Regions from separate parts of the Homo sapiens genome. Here region 1 is linked to region 2. The links are contacts of gene promoters, found by promoter capture Hi-C in human tissues and cell types (Jung and others, 2019). All regions are on one chromosome and are shown on one strand. Each heading gives the region's core, a stretch centred on a gene start or on the middle of the fragment in contact. The rest is flanking DNA. Distances are from core to core; before and after follow the strand shown. Region 1 overlaps STX12 (syntaxin 12). Region 2 holds the start of IFI6 (interferon alpha inducible protein 6).

Region 1 (7,068 bases), core at 2,991-5,490, 130 kb after region 2:
CCGGCCAACATGGCGAAACCCCATCTGTACTAAAAATACAATAAAAAATTAGCCAGGTATGGTGGTGGGTGCCTGTAATCCCAGCTCCTCAGGAGGCTGAGGCACAAGAATCGCTTGAACACGGGCGGCAGAGGTTGGCAGTGAGCTGAGATCATGCCACTGCGCTCCAGCCTGGGCGACAGAGCAAGACTCCGTCTCAATAAAAAGAAAAAAAAAAAAAGAAGAAGAAGTTAAATGCAACCCAGTTCCAGGTTTGTCAGAATGAAAGAAGAAAAATTCTGACTTGGTCTATAGTATTAACCAGGGACTTGAGCTAGCAAAGAGCAAATTTATTAATTTAAAGAAGAGACTATTTCATAATAATTTTCCTAGTTGGAAATCTTTAAGGGGTATAATTTTACTTTTAAGGGAAATTAAAACCAAATGATTCTGGGTTAATATGAAATCTCAAGTTCTTGCTTGATTTCCTTAGCGCCAGCAGAGACTTCAGAAGGAACGCCTCATGAATGACTTCTCTGCAGCCTTAAACAATTTCCAGGCTGTGCAGAGAAGGGTATCTGAAAAGGAAAAGGAGAGTATTGCCAGAGCAAGAGCTGGATCTCGTCTTTCTGTAAGTTGATTCCCAAAAGAAGACCTTTGCAATATCAGAATGTTCTTTTCCAAGTTTGTGGGTTTTTTTCTTTTTCTCTTTGACCAATAAACATGTAAGTTAGCTGCTGTGAAAATGGCAGGTTGGTGTAACCTATGTAAAAAACATATATGCATGTGATCAAAGCCTAGAAAGGAATCTGAATGAAGGTTAAGAGATATAGGAGGAAGAACTATGTCTAATTTTCTTTTTCATTTTGATATATTGGTTTTAACGTTAAAAACTTGAAAATAAAAATAATGAATCTGTTTCCTGGAATATAACAGGCTAGTTTATTTGGACTAGCCCTCTGTTTTTGAAAAGGATTTTCAAATACTGGATTTTAAAAATCCAACTTCTCAAAAGTATCAAAGATTATGAAAATATTAAGGTAAAGCCTGAGAGGTCAGCAGAATACTGAAACTGCTTTTGCATTGAATGTCTTTACTGAAGGCAAACTTGAACTTCAGTTTTGATATCCTCATGGCATGGGGAGGATAAAAGTCAAAGCCAAAGGTCCATGCAAGAGAGAGAATATAAAAGAAGGTACAACTCAAATTAAACTGGGCCCTAAGAGACTATATCCTTAGAACATTAAGTCAAAAGTAAGCTCTTCTATCCCCCGGCAGATTACAGAAAGATTGCATTAGCACTGAACTGAGCAGATGGAGGAGGAGGGCAGGAGGGAGGAGAAATCTAGACAAGGTTACCACAAAGTAACCTTCTTCAGGCAGATTTTCTGCTCAAATTCATCCTACCTGAATGGTTCAGTGGTCCTGGACTGGGAGAGCCACCTATGTGTGGGATAGAAGCAAACACAAATTCCTTCTGTAGAAAGACACCTTTATCCTAGCCCTGAAATAATACTCTCAAATAATTTTTCTAGGGCAGTAAGTACCAGTCACTAAAAATAACCATGTGTGCAAAGAAACAAATTACTCTGAACAAGAATTAGTAGAAACAACAATGAAGTGAAATATACCTACAAAGACTTTTTATATTAGAATTATAAGACAACTATACTTATTGTGTTTAAAGACATAAAAGGCTGAAAACCTCTGCAGGAAACTACACAAAGATTTGAAAAAGTGTCAAAAGAATTTCTAAAATGGAAAGATATAATATAGAAATTTAAAAACTTAGTGGATGGGTGGTTTAACTAAAAAATTGGTTAGAATATATTATCCAGCATGTAGCATAGGGGGTTAAGAGGTTAAATACGGAAGAAAGATTATGAAAAATGGAGAATGGAGAGAAAAGATCTAACGTAGTTTTAACTGGAGTTATAGAGTGAGAATAGGGCAAACATAGAACAGAGGTGATATTTGAAGAAATAATGAGTGATAATATTCTAGAACTGATTAAAAACACTAGCCTGCAGTTTCAAGAAGCCTAACAAATCCCAAGCAGGATAAATAAAATCTCTAATCTAGATACATCAAAGACAAACTTCAGACCAGAGACAAAGAGAAAAATCATAAAGATAGCTAGAGAAACATTAGAATACCTTCAAAGATACAATAGTTAGATTGACAGTTGACTTCTCAACAACAGTGGAAGCCAGTAGAGTGCTATCTTGAATGTTGATGAAGGACAATAACTGCCTACCTAGGATTCTAAACCCAGTGAAAATATATGTCAGAATGAGGGCTAATTAAAGACATTTTCAATCAAAAGAGAGTTTTCTGTCAGCACATCTTATTGAAGGAAATTCTAAATAATGTATTTCAGATGGAAGGAAAGTGATCTCAGATGGAAAGTCTGAAAAGCAGAAAGAAATGAAGAACAAAAAAAGTGGTAAAGATGTGAAAAGACTAGTCACAGGGAGAAGACATTGCTATATATATTTAATAGCAAAGGACTAGCATTTAGAATATATAAAGAATTCGGCCAGGCGTGGTGGCTCACACCTGTAATCCCAGCACTTTGGGAGGCCAAGGTGGGCAGATCACGAGGTCAGGAGTTCAAGACCAGCCTGGCCAACATGGTGAAACCCTGTCTCTACTAAAAATACAAAATTAGCTGGGCGTGGTAGCGCGTGCCTGTAATCCCAGCTACTCTGGAGGCTGAGGCAGGAGAATCGCTTGAACCAGGGAGACAGAGGTTGCAGTGAGCTGAGATTGTGCCCCTGTGCTCCAGCCTGGGCGACACAACAAGATTGTATCTCAAAAAACAAAAAACAAAACAAAAAAAACCCCAGAATTCCCATGAATCAATATGAAAAAGAAAGATACAACTCAATAGAACAAAAGTTGTCAAACTTTTTAATCTCAGGAACCCATTACACTCTTAAAAATCATTAAATTCTGTGGCCGGGCGCAGTGGCTCATGCCTGTAATCCCAGCACTTTGGGAGGCCGAGGCGGGTGGATCACCTGAGGTCAGGAGTTCAAGACCAGCCTGGCCAACATGGAGAAACCCTGTCTCTATTAAAAAATACAAAATTAGCCGCGCATGGTGGCGCATGCCTGTAATCCCAGCTACTTGGGAGGCTGAGGCAGGAGAATCACTTGAACCTGGGAGGTGGAGGTTGCAGTGAGCCGAGATTGCACCATTGCACTCCAGCCTGGGCAAAAAGAGTGAAATTCCGTCTCAAAAAAAAATATCATTAAGTTATCTTCTTGAATCTTAAAAAAAAAAAAAATTACTAAGGACCTGTATTAGTCTGTTCTCACTCTGCTATAAAGAACTGCCCGAAGCTGGGCGTGGTGGCTCACGCCTGTAATCCCAGCACTTTGGGAGGCTGAGGCGGGCAGATCACAGGGTCAGGAGTTCAAGACCAGCCTGGCCAACATGGTGAAACCCCATCGCTACTAAAAATATAAAAAATTAGCCGGGCATGGTGGCAGGTGCCTATAATCCCAGCTACTCAGGACGCTGAGGCAGGAGACTCGCTTCAACCCGGGAGGCGGAGATTGCCATGAGCTGAGACCGCACCGCTGCACTCCAGCCTGGGCAACAGAGTGAGACTCCATCTCAAAAAAAAAAAAAGGAAGAAAGAACTGCCAGAGACTGGGTAATTTACTTTAATTTATATTGAAGTATTTAATTTATATAGGAAAGGGGTTTTGTTGACTCACATTTCCACATGTCTGGGAGGCCTCAGGAAACTTACAGTCATGGTAGAAGACACCTCTTCACAGGACCGCAGGAGAGAGAATGAGTGCGGAGAGAAGGGGAAAGCCCCTTATAAAACCATCAGATGTTGTGAGAACTCAGTCACTATCACGAGAACAACAAGGGGAAAACTGTCCCCATGCTTCAGTTTTGTCCATCTGGTCTCGCCCTTGACACGTGGGGATTATTACAATTCAAGGTGAGATTTGGGTGGGGACACAGAGCCAAACCATATCAGACCCCAAAGAAGTTTTGTTTATATGAGTCATATCTATTGATGTATACTGTATTAGAAATTAAAACTGAGAAAAATTTTAGATGTTTGTTTATTCATTTACAAATAATACACTTATTACATATTAACATGAATATAAATTAGATTTTTTATGCACATGGGGAAAGAAGGAATTAAATTAGATTTTTCATTTTAAAAAATTGTGTTTCCAAGAAAAAAAATTAGTGGGCAGAGTAGCATTATTTTCATTTTTGCAAATTTTTTTTATTTTAATGTCTGGCTTACCAGAAGGCAGCTAGATTTTCATAGCTGCTTTTGTTTTTTAACCTCCATACTAAAGATGTAAATGATTTATATAACACCATTACAGTATTAGAATATTCTGAATTTGACTATTTACTTACTTTTACCAGTGAATGTTATACTTTCATATGTTTTCATGTTACTAATTATTATGCTTTTCATTCAGCTTGAAGAACTCCCTTTAGCACTTCTTGTGAGGCAGGTGTAGTGGTGATGAACTCTCTCAGCTTTTTTCGTCTAGGATTATATCTGCTTCTGTATTCAGTCTATTATGATAGATTGTTCTGGTTGAAGTATCTGAAGAAAATCCAAGCTAGCAGAAATATACAATTGGAAAAGGAATATTTTTATAACCTTGTTGATACTCTTCTTTGATACTACATCAAAACTTGACAAAAGTTAGTTGCATTGTACAATCTAAAACCATTATAATGACTTCATACTCTGTTACATTAACATCTGTTGGTCTATATTATACTTTGATTGGATCTTTTATCCATGCATGATTTTTATAGCATCATGTATTTATCATTTGGATAGTATTGGTTCCCTGAGTTATGCAGCTCTTCCAAATGTCGATACATTTCATTTTACAATATAAAAAAATACATATTTCCATCAGTTTCACCAGAAAAGTATTTAAATATTGGGAAACTCTTACAATGGTAGATACAAGTCTTCCGAAATTTTATTTTTATTTTTACTTGAAAGCTACATTTTTGTCATTGGCAACAAACACCCTCTGTTGTTTTCCTTGAAGTGACAGGCTCATACTTCTTTTCAACAAGTTGTCTGCCAAATACCCATCTGAAAAGTTTATATGTATACGTTTATGAAAGTTTTAAAGCTTTTAAATAAGTTTTTAGTAAGTTCTTATAAAACTATATTGAATAAGTAAAAATGGTATTCCCTAAAAAAAGTGGCTAGTTCAGCCTGCAGTTCCATTACACAAGTGCTTTTCCTAGAGACAGACATTGTATTTCTTTATGCAGCAGAAGTACTTTATGTGCACTTCCCATTTCACAATACAGAATAGTAGAAAGATATGTATTGAGGGGTCAAGGTTTAATTAATAATTTGTATGGCTTCAAGAATACATTGGCTTTTAAAATACGGTGAGTGTGTGGTGATGAAGAATACAATAATACTAGTGCAATTCGGTGCCACTGCCTTCAGCCATTTTATCTATCTGTATTAGTCCATTTTCACACTGCTATAAAGATACTACCTGAGACTGGATACTTTATAAATAAAAGAGGTTTAATTGACTCACAGTTCTGCGTGGCTGGATAGGCCTCAGGAAACTTACAACCATGGTAGAAAGCTAAGGGGAGGCAAGGCATGTCTTACATGGTGGCAGGAGAAAGAGAAAGAGAGTGCAGGGGAAATACCAGACACTTACCAAACAACCGGATCTCATGAGAACTCCCTCACTAACACGTGAACACTAACACCCCCATGATCCAATCACTTCCCACCAGGTCCCTCCCTTCGCACGTTGGGATTACAATTCGAGACGAGATTTGAGTGGGGACATAGAGCCAAACCATATCACTACCATTGCCTTTTTTTAATTTTTAATTTTTGTGGGCACATGGTAGGTGTATATATTTATGAGGTACATGAGATACTTTCATATAGTCATGTAATGTGTAATAATTACACCATGGTAAATGGGGTGTCTATCCCCTCAAGCATTTATCCTTTATGTTACAGACAATTCAATTATACTCTTTTAGTTATTTTTGAATATATAATTAAATTATTATTGACGATAGTCACCCATTTGTGCTATCAAATACTAGGTCCTATTCATTCTTCCTATTTTTTGTGCCCATTAACCATCCCCACTTCCCCGCCACCAGTCCCCCACCATTGCTTTTGCTCCGTCCTGTTGATATTTACACTCATGGAGCAAATAAACACGTTAGTATTATTTTGAGTAATGGTCAAACAAATGAAAAGGTACTCAGCTTCTTTAGTAATGGTGAAATTACAGATTAAAATAACAATGAAATACTATTTCATGCCCACCAGGAGGGCAGAAGTTTAAAATTCTGTGAACACTGGGAGTTGTCATTATGGATATGATGCAACAGGAACTTTTTTATCTGGCCGGTGGTATAAGTTAGAACAACTACTTTGGAAAACATTTTGGCTGTATCTTCAGAACACATGCAGACCTTGTGATCCAGCAATTCTACCCTAGAGAAACCTGTATGTGTTATACCAGGATGTATGTACAAGAATGTGCATAGCAGCATTGTTTGTAGTAGTCAAAAATTGGAAACATCCAGATGTCTGTCAACTGTAGAATGGATAAATTGTGTTATGTTCATATACTATAATATCATACAGCAAAGAAAATGATTGAACCACAGTTACATTCAGTATCAGAGATGGATCTGGCATAATCTGGAATGATTCAAAAAAAGCACTAAAGAATATAAACAGTATAATTCCATTTATGTAAAGTTCAAAAACAGGCAAAATGATATTGAATAAGAATATAGCTCACTATTCTTAAAATGCAAGAAAATGATTTTCACAAAGTCAAGATAATAGATACTTTAAAAGGGAGGGATGGAGTTGTGATTGGAGAAGGGCACATGAGTAGGCTTTTAGGACTCTGGCAATGTTATTTCTTGATCTGGGGAAAAAGATAAAGTAAAAAGAAAAAAACAAACCAAAAACCCACAGTGTTCCTCTGAGTGGATAGAAATTTGAAATTCTTTTCATTTTGCTTGTCCTGTATTGCTATTATAAAAAGGGTAAGCTTTTTAAAA
Region 2 (7,053 bases), core at 1,644-4,143:
CCGCCTTCTGCCGCATGGTGGCGCCGCGCGCGGGCTCCGTCACTAGACCTGCGAACGGGCGAGAGGGAGATGGTCCCCGGAGCATTTTTGGAGCTCATCAGCTCCGTTGTTTTCCCTTCCAGTTCCAACTGAATCAGTAAAAAGCAGCGAGGTGTGGTGAATGGAACCCAGGATCCCTCTCAGGAGCCTCGGGAATCCGTTTCCTCTCCGCATCAGTGGCAGAGATGTCCCTGCCCCAACCGGTGGGTGTGCGGATTCTGTGCGGATTCGCACGGTGTTTGGCACGTGGTAAGCTCCGCAGATGTCAATATCATGACTGTGGTTGTTCCTGGCCTTGTACCCAAGTGACCTTGGGCAGGATACTAGGGTACTTTGCTTCTCTGGGCTTCAGTTTGTTTATTTCTAAAATTGGGGTATTAATAGAGTCTATTTCAGAGGGTACTTGTTAATTTAATAACTGTTCCACGCTGTATCCCCGGCACTTTGAACAGTGCCTGACGCATAGAATTTGCTTTAAAAAAATTTTTAAGACAAACTCATTCTTACAATGCATTGAATATCTACTGGCACCAAACGTTGGCCTCACATCAACTTAATTTTTTTTTCAGAAAGAAAGCACAGAAGGGTGTGTGGAAAAAGAAACTCAGTTTCCCTCACCGTACGAGAGGCTTCTGACAGCAGAAGTGTGGGGGTTTCTCCCCACCAGCAAGCAAACAATCAGTCCTCTGGTGAACACCAGCTGAGGGTCCCCAAATTCAATTCTGACACCACTATGGGTAGATAGTGGCCGATCCCACATGTTGAGGGTTCAGTCCCCCAGACTGCCAATCGAAAGCCCTAGGTTGTTTTACCTGTGTTTCTGACTGACTATAAACTGGGGTTCCCACAATTCCCTCCTGCAGTTTTACTAATTTGCTAGAGCAGCTCACAGAACTCAGGGAAACACTTTACTTACATATACTGGTTTCTTTCTTTAAAAAAAAAAAATTGATCTTGTTGTTGTTTTGAGACAGGGTCTCACTCTATTGCTCAGGCTGGAGTGCAGTGGCCCCATCTCAGCTCACTGAGACCTTCGCCTCCCAGGCTCAAGTGATCCTCCCACCTCAGCCTCCAGCATAGCTGGGACTACAGGTATGCACCACCACGCCCAACTAATTTTTTTTTTTTTTTTTGAGATGGGGTTTCACCATGTTGCCCAGGCTGATCTTGAACTCCTGAACTCACGCAATCTGCCTGCCTCAGCCTCCCAAAGTGCTGAGATTACAGGCATCAGCCACCATACCCAGCTACATTTACTGGTTCCTTATGGATATTACAAATGCTCCGGATGAAGAGATGCATAGGGCAAGGTATGGGAGAAAGGGCATGGAGTTTCCATTCCTCTCCAGAAGCACCACCCACTGGAGACCTCCTTGTATTCGGCTATCTGGAAGCTTGTCAAACCCTGTCCTTTTGTGTTTTTATGGAGGCTTCATTACATAGGCATGACTGATTAAATCACTGCCCATTGGTAATCAGCTTAACCTTCAGCCCCTCTCCCCTCCCCAGAGGAAATGCCAGCCATCAGTCAACTTATTAGACAGTTATCACTCAAAAGATATTTATCACTTTGAAGATTCCAAGGATTTTAGGAGTTGTATGCCAGGAACTGGGGGATGAAAAAATATATTTTACAATATCACAAGGGATAAAGGTCACACAGCAAATTGTGCAACATGGGTACACATTCAAGACAGTCAGAATTCATGAACCTATGCTCTTTCCTTTATACCACAAAACTGGAAAATGCATATGCCCTCAGACTCACCTCTAATATGATCTTTGTCAGATCAATGCTATTTTCTTAAGTTAAAAAGAAAAACAAGAAACTCCTCTCATGTATTGAGTACTTAGCACTTTATGGCACGCAGTCCACTTGTACCTATAACAACACCACGAAGTAGGTACCATTGTTATCAACCACATGTTATAGATAAGGAAACTGAAGCTCAGAGAGGTTAAGTAATATTCCCAAGGCTGCCTAGCCAGGTCATGGCAAAGTCAGGGTTTAAACCCACAATTGGCTAATACCCAAGCCCACATTTTTTTTTTTTTTTTTTTGAGATGGAGTCTTTCTCTGTCGCCCAGGCTGGAGTGCAGTGGCGCAATCTCATCTCACTGCAAGCTCCACCTCCCAGGTTCATGCCATTCTCCTGCCTGCCTCAGCCTCCCGAGTAGCTGAGACTACAGGCGCCCACCACCAAGCCCGGCTAATTTTTTTTGTATTTTTAGTAGAGACAGGGTTTCACTGTGTTAGCCAGGATGGTCTCGATCTCCTGACCTCGTGATCCGTGGGTCTCGGCCTCCCAAAGTGCTGGGATTACAGGCGTGAACCACCACGCCCGGCCACCAAGCCCACATTTTTAACAACCACTCCAGATGGCTTCATCTATCCTTAAAGATGAACTCACTGTCACATTGGATCCTATAATAAAGGGGATTCTAAAATCATCCAGTCCTTTGAGCAGCAAAGGCAACTTAACTTTCCTTTTACAGAGGAAGTAATTAAGGCTCCAAGAGGTGACAGTGTTAAGGCCACAGATCGCTGATATTGCACCTGTAAGCTGGGTCTCATGCCACTTGGGGTTTTGCATCCCATCTCCCTAAAAATCTCCAACCCATCCTCTTAGACAAGTCCCAGCCCAGAGCACTAAAAGGGACCCAGGAGTGCTGCCTCCCAGGAGAAGGGGCCTCCTGGCTCTCAGAACATGAGATTTACAGGCAGACAGGCAGCCTGGCAGAGGGTGGCAGCTTGATGCCCACACTTCATAGCTCCTGAGTTTACCTTGGAGGAGAGAAGAGAAGCAATCTTCAGCCCGGAGCCTGCTGATAGATGGGCACAGCAGCGAGTAAACGGTTCTCCGGCTGAAGGCTGGCTTTTTATCATCACTTGTGGATCCTCCCACGTCTCACCCTAGGCAGCCAATCCCTGTCGGAGTTTCTATTTCTGCACTCTGCAGTTTCATTTTCCCCTCTCTCCCAGCTCCTGCACTCTGCAGAGTTTCATTTTCCCCTCTCTCCCAGCTCCGCCCAGCGGGAACATTTGTGTGCTGCCTGCTGGCAGAAAAATGCACTTCAAGCTGAGGACTTTTGGAGCCGCTAAGGGTATTCAAAGCATGTCACACTATGATGAGAGCCACGGCCATACTGGGCTTAGTGAAGCCTGATCACCAGCTCCCCCTGGGGCACACAGGCCTTTCACCATTCAGTCCAATTAGTAAACAACACCTATCATTTATTGAGCACTTGCTGCATGCCAGGGTCTGTGCAAAGTGCTCTATTTACATGATCTTTTTCCAATCCCACAGTAGTCATGTGACATACCATATGCTGTTTATAAACCCCCAGAACTTTGGAAATTAAGTCACTTTGTTCCATTGTTCTCTCAGGCTGGCTGCTTCTGGGTCATGGGCATATGGTAAGACCAGTGAAGCCTGTGTTCATGTGGCCATCATGATAGATCTTGAGTTTCAAGATGGGTCCCCTGGCCCTAGGTAATGAACTGAGCATTCTTTAAAGCCTTTGGATGGTGATGCTTGAAGTGCTATGGGTCAGAAATGCAACCTCTATTTGGAGAACATAGAAATTCCAGTAAGGATGAATCATTGCCTTCTCCCAAGTGGAAGGGGTCTGAAATAATTGACCTGCCACCAGATGGCTGGCTATTCTCATTGAGAAATTTTGCCATATTGCTACCTGCTGCTGGCAGATTGGCTATATTTTGGCAATTGCCAGATCAGTTTTGGTGAGAGGGAGCCCAAGTTGTTGGACTCATTTCTAACCCCCATCCTTACCACCTTGGACACTCATAGGTCTATTGCAAGGCAATAGTGAGGCTAAGTTTAGAGGCTGGCTGACATCCACAGGATGGGACATCCTGGCCATTGGGCTGTAGAGCCTCCTCTGCAGCAGATGATCTCTGGTCAGCATTAACATGAGACATAGAGATCCAGGTGCTTTATGCCCATTCAGAGTTCATTCTTATGCCCCTAACCCACACCTGCTTATTCCCAATCTTCCAATCTTGTTCCATCCATGCCTTTGACCAACCAGCCAAGCCATTTGCCTCTTATTAGGAATTGGTGTATGTCTGTACTTCAGTCCATCTCTCTCTCTCTCTCTCTGCATACAGAGGGAACAACACGGTATACTGCTCCTAGTTCTGCCCCCTGGGAGGATTCACTATTATTCAGTGCCACCCCCAAATGGGGCTGTAATAGAGTGGTCCGTTTCCAGCTGATACCAAAATATTATACTGACTTATCTGTGAATTGAGTTTGACTCCTTTCCTCCATTATCTGTTGGTTGCTGGGAACACTCCATGAGGCCATATATATGGGTCAAAGAGAAAACCCAGAGAAACAGAGTTGGGCGCCACAGGACTCTGAGCTCCCTGTTTATTTAATTTACTCAAGCCTTTTAGACCCCTTTGCTCAGCCTTGAATATACCATTTCCATCATATATTTTTTGTTTTGTTTTGTTCTTTGTTTTTTGTTGTTTTTGTTTTTGTTTTTGAGACAGTCTTGCACTGTTCCCCAGGCTGGAGTGCAGTGGTGTGATCTTGGTTTACTGCAACCTCTGCCTCCTGGGTTCAAGCGATTCTCCTGCCTCAGCCTCCCAAGTAGCTGGGATTACAGGTGCGCGCCACCATGCCCGGCTAATGTTTTTTGTATTTTTAGTAGAGATGGGGTTTTGCCATGTTGGCCAGGCTGGTCTTGAACTCCTGACCTCAGGTGATCCACCCACCTCTACCTCCCAAAGTGCTGAGATTACAGGTGTGAGCTGCTGTGCCTGGCCTCTTTGTTGTTTTGTCGGTTGGTTGGTTGGTTTGTTAGAGACAGGGTCTCACTCTGTTGCCGGGGCTGGAGTGCAGTGGTACAATCATAGCTTACCGCAGCCTTGACTTCCTAGGCTCAAGAAATCCTCCCAACTCACCCTCCCAAGTATCTGGGACTATAGGCATGTGCCACCACACCCAGCTAATTTTTATATTTCTTTTAGAGATGGAGGTCTCACTACATTGCCCATGCTAGTCTCCAACTCCTGGCTCCAAGTGATCCTTCTGCCTCGAGGTCTTAAAGTGCTGGGATTACAGGCATGAGCCAATGCGCCCAGCTTCCATCACATATGGAACTGCTGCTCTACCTTTCTGATAATACCCAACTTAAGATATATAGCTACCTGGCACCCAGTGGTGAGATGTGTAGTCACTACTGGGGCCCAGTGACACATCAGGGCCTCTTTTCCCAAAGGGACCACAGTAAGCATAGCCTTACTGCAGAATCCTAAGAATCCTAACCGTAATTCTCCTATGTGGGCTTTCAGAAACTTTCTACAGAATCTTTTTTCTCCCTCCCTACAGAATTGTTATCCACCTTCACACAGATACATCCAGCAACATTGTAGGATCATATAATCAGAAGTGGCAGCATAGCTTGTTTTGTGGCCTGAACCTGCTACACAGTTAAGAGGAAAGAAAAAAACCAAAATGACCTAATGTGCTTTTTCTTTTCTTTTCTTTTCTTTTCTTTTGAGACAGAGTCTCGGTCTGTCGCCCAGGCTGGAGTGCAGTGGCGCGATCTTGGCTCACTGCAAGCTCCACCTCCCGGGTTCACGCCATTCTCCTGCCTCAGCCTCCCGAGTAGCGGGGACTACAGCCGCCCGTCCCCACGCCTGGCTAATTTTTTGTATTTTTAGTAGAGACAGGGTTTCACTGTGTTAGCCAGGATAGTCTCGATCTCTTGACCTCGCGATCCCCCCACCTCGGCCTCCCAAAGTGCTGGGATTATAGGCGGGAGCCACCGCGCCCGGCCTGCGTTTTCTATTCTCTCACTGAACACAACAATCGCCACAGACCAGATGTGTGGGTGGGTTTTTTTTCTCACGCCCCAAGCAGCAGACACCAGCTGGGTGTCCTCCGATTCAATTTTTTTTTTCTTTTTTTTTTTTTTTGAGATGGAGTTTCACTCTTGTCGCCCAGGCTGGAGTGCAGTGGTACTATCTCGGCTCACCGCAACCTCCGCCTCCCGGCTTCAAGCGATTCTCCTGACTCAGCCTCCCATGTAGCTGGGATTACAGGCATGCACCACCACACCCGGCTAATTTTGTATTTTTAGTAGAGACGGGGTTTCTCCATGTTGGTCAGGCTGGTCTCGAACTCCCAACCTCAGGTGATCTGCCTACCTCGGCCTCCCAGAGTGCTGGGATTATAGGCGTGAGCCACCTTGCCTGGCCTCAATTCTTTTTTTTTTTAATTATTAAAATAAAAATATGGAACGCTTCATGAATTTGTGTATCATCCTTGCACAGGGGCCATGCTAATCTTCCCTGTATCATTCCAATTTTAGTATATGTGCTGCTGAAGTGAGCACTTTTTTTCTTTTCTTCAGACAGGGTCTCACTGTGTCACCAAGGCTGGCTCAATCACGGCTCACTGCAGCCTCGACCTCCTGTGTTCAAGCGATCCTCCTGCCTCAGCCTCCCGAGTAGCTGGGACTATAGGGGTGCACCACCATGCCCAGGTAATTTTTGTATTTTTTGTAAAGATGGGGTTTTGCCATGTTGGCCAGGTGGTCTCGAACTCCTGGGCTCAAGGGATCTGCCCGCCTCAGCCTCTCAAAGTGCTGGGATTACAGGCATAGGCCACTGTGCCCAGCCTCCAATTCAATTCTGACACTGTCTACCTGGAGAGAGCATCGATCCTACAGGTTGAGGGACTCCTCAACTCTCACCCTCAAGACACAAATCAGGGCTTCTGGAACTTCCGACTGGTTACAAGTTGGGATTCCCATAATCCCTTCTTTGGGTTTAATTCATGTGCTAGAGAGGCTCCTAGAGCACAGGGAAACACAGTTAGCAGTTTACTACACAGGAAATTAGAAAGGCTACATGAAGAGATGTGTTGGGTGAGGTATGGGGGAATGGGCACAGCGTCCTCCAGGAACATCCATGTGTTCAGCTATTGGGAAGCTCTCGGAACTCTGTCTTTTTGCTTTTTTATGGAGGCTTCATTA

Evidence for each region. The method cuts DNA at HindIII sites, captures the fragments that hold promoters and counts their contacts. A contact is called where the count stands out against the background at its distance.
Region 1: a contact is called between a fragment that was not itself captured here and the fragment with the promoter of IFI6 in region 2, in 2 of the 25 tissues and cell types used here (hippocampus and mesenchymal stem cells).

The regions. Positions count from the first base shown.
Region 1 is chr1:27,801,206-27,808,273 of GRCh38, forward strand. STX12 (syntaxin 12) reads left to right here. Exons shown (of 9, transcript NM_177424.3): 4 at 473-610. Among named protein-coding and RNA genes, the nearest start is that of PPP1R8, 26 kb to the right of the region's middle. RefSeq lists an enhancer at 5,986-6,509. The HindIII fragment of the contact is 3,705 bases long and covers 2,389-6,093 here.
Region 2 is chr1:27,669,299-27,676,351 of GRCh38, forward strand. IFI6 (interferon alpha inducible protein 6) reads right to left here and starts at 2,894. Exons shown (of 5, transcript NM_002038.4): 1 at 2,825-2,894; 2 at 1-48. The coding sequence starts at 16. It also overlaps the pseudogene RNU6-949P. RefSeq lists enhancers at 88-147, 2,926-3,265. The HindIII fragment of the contact is 16,144 bases long and covers 1-7,053 here.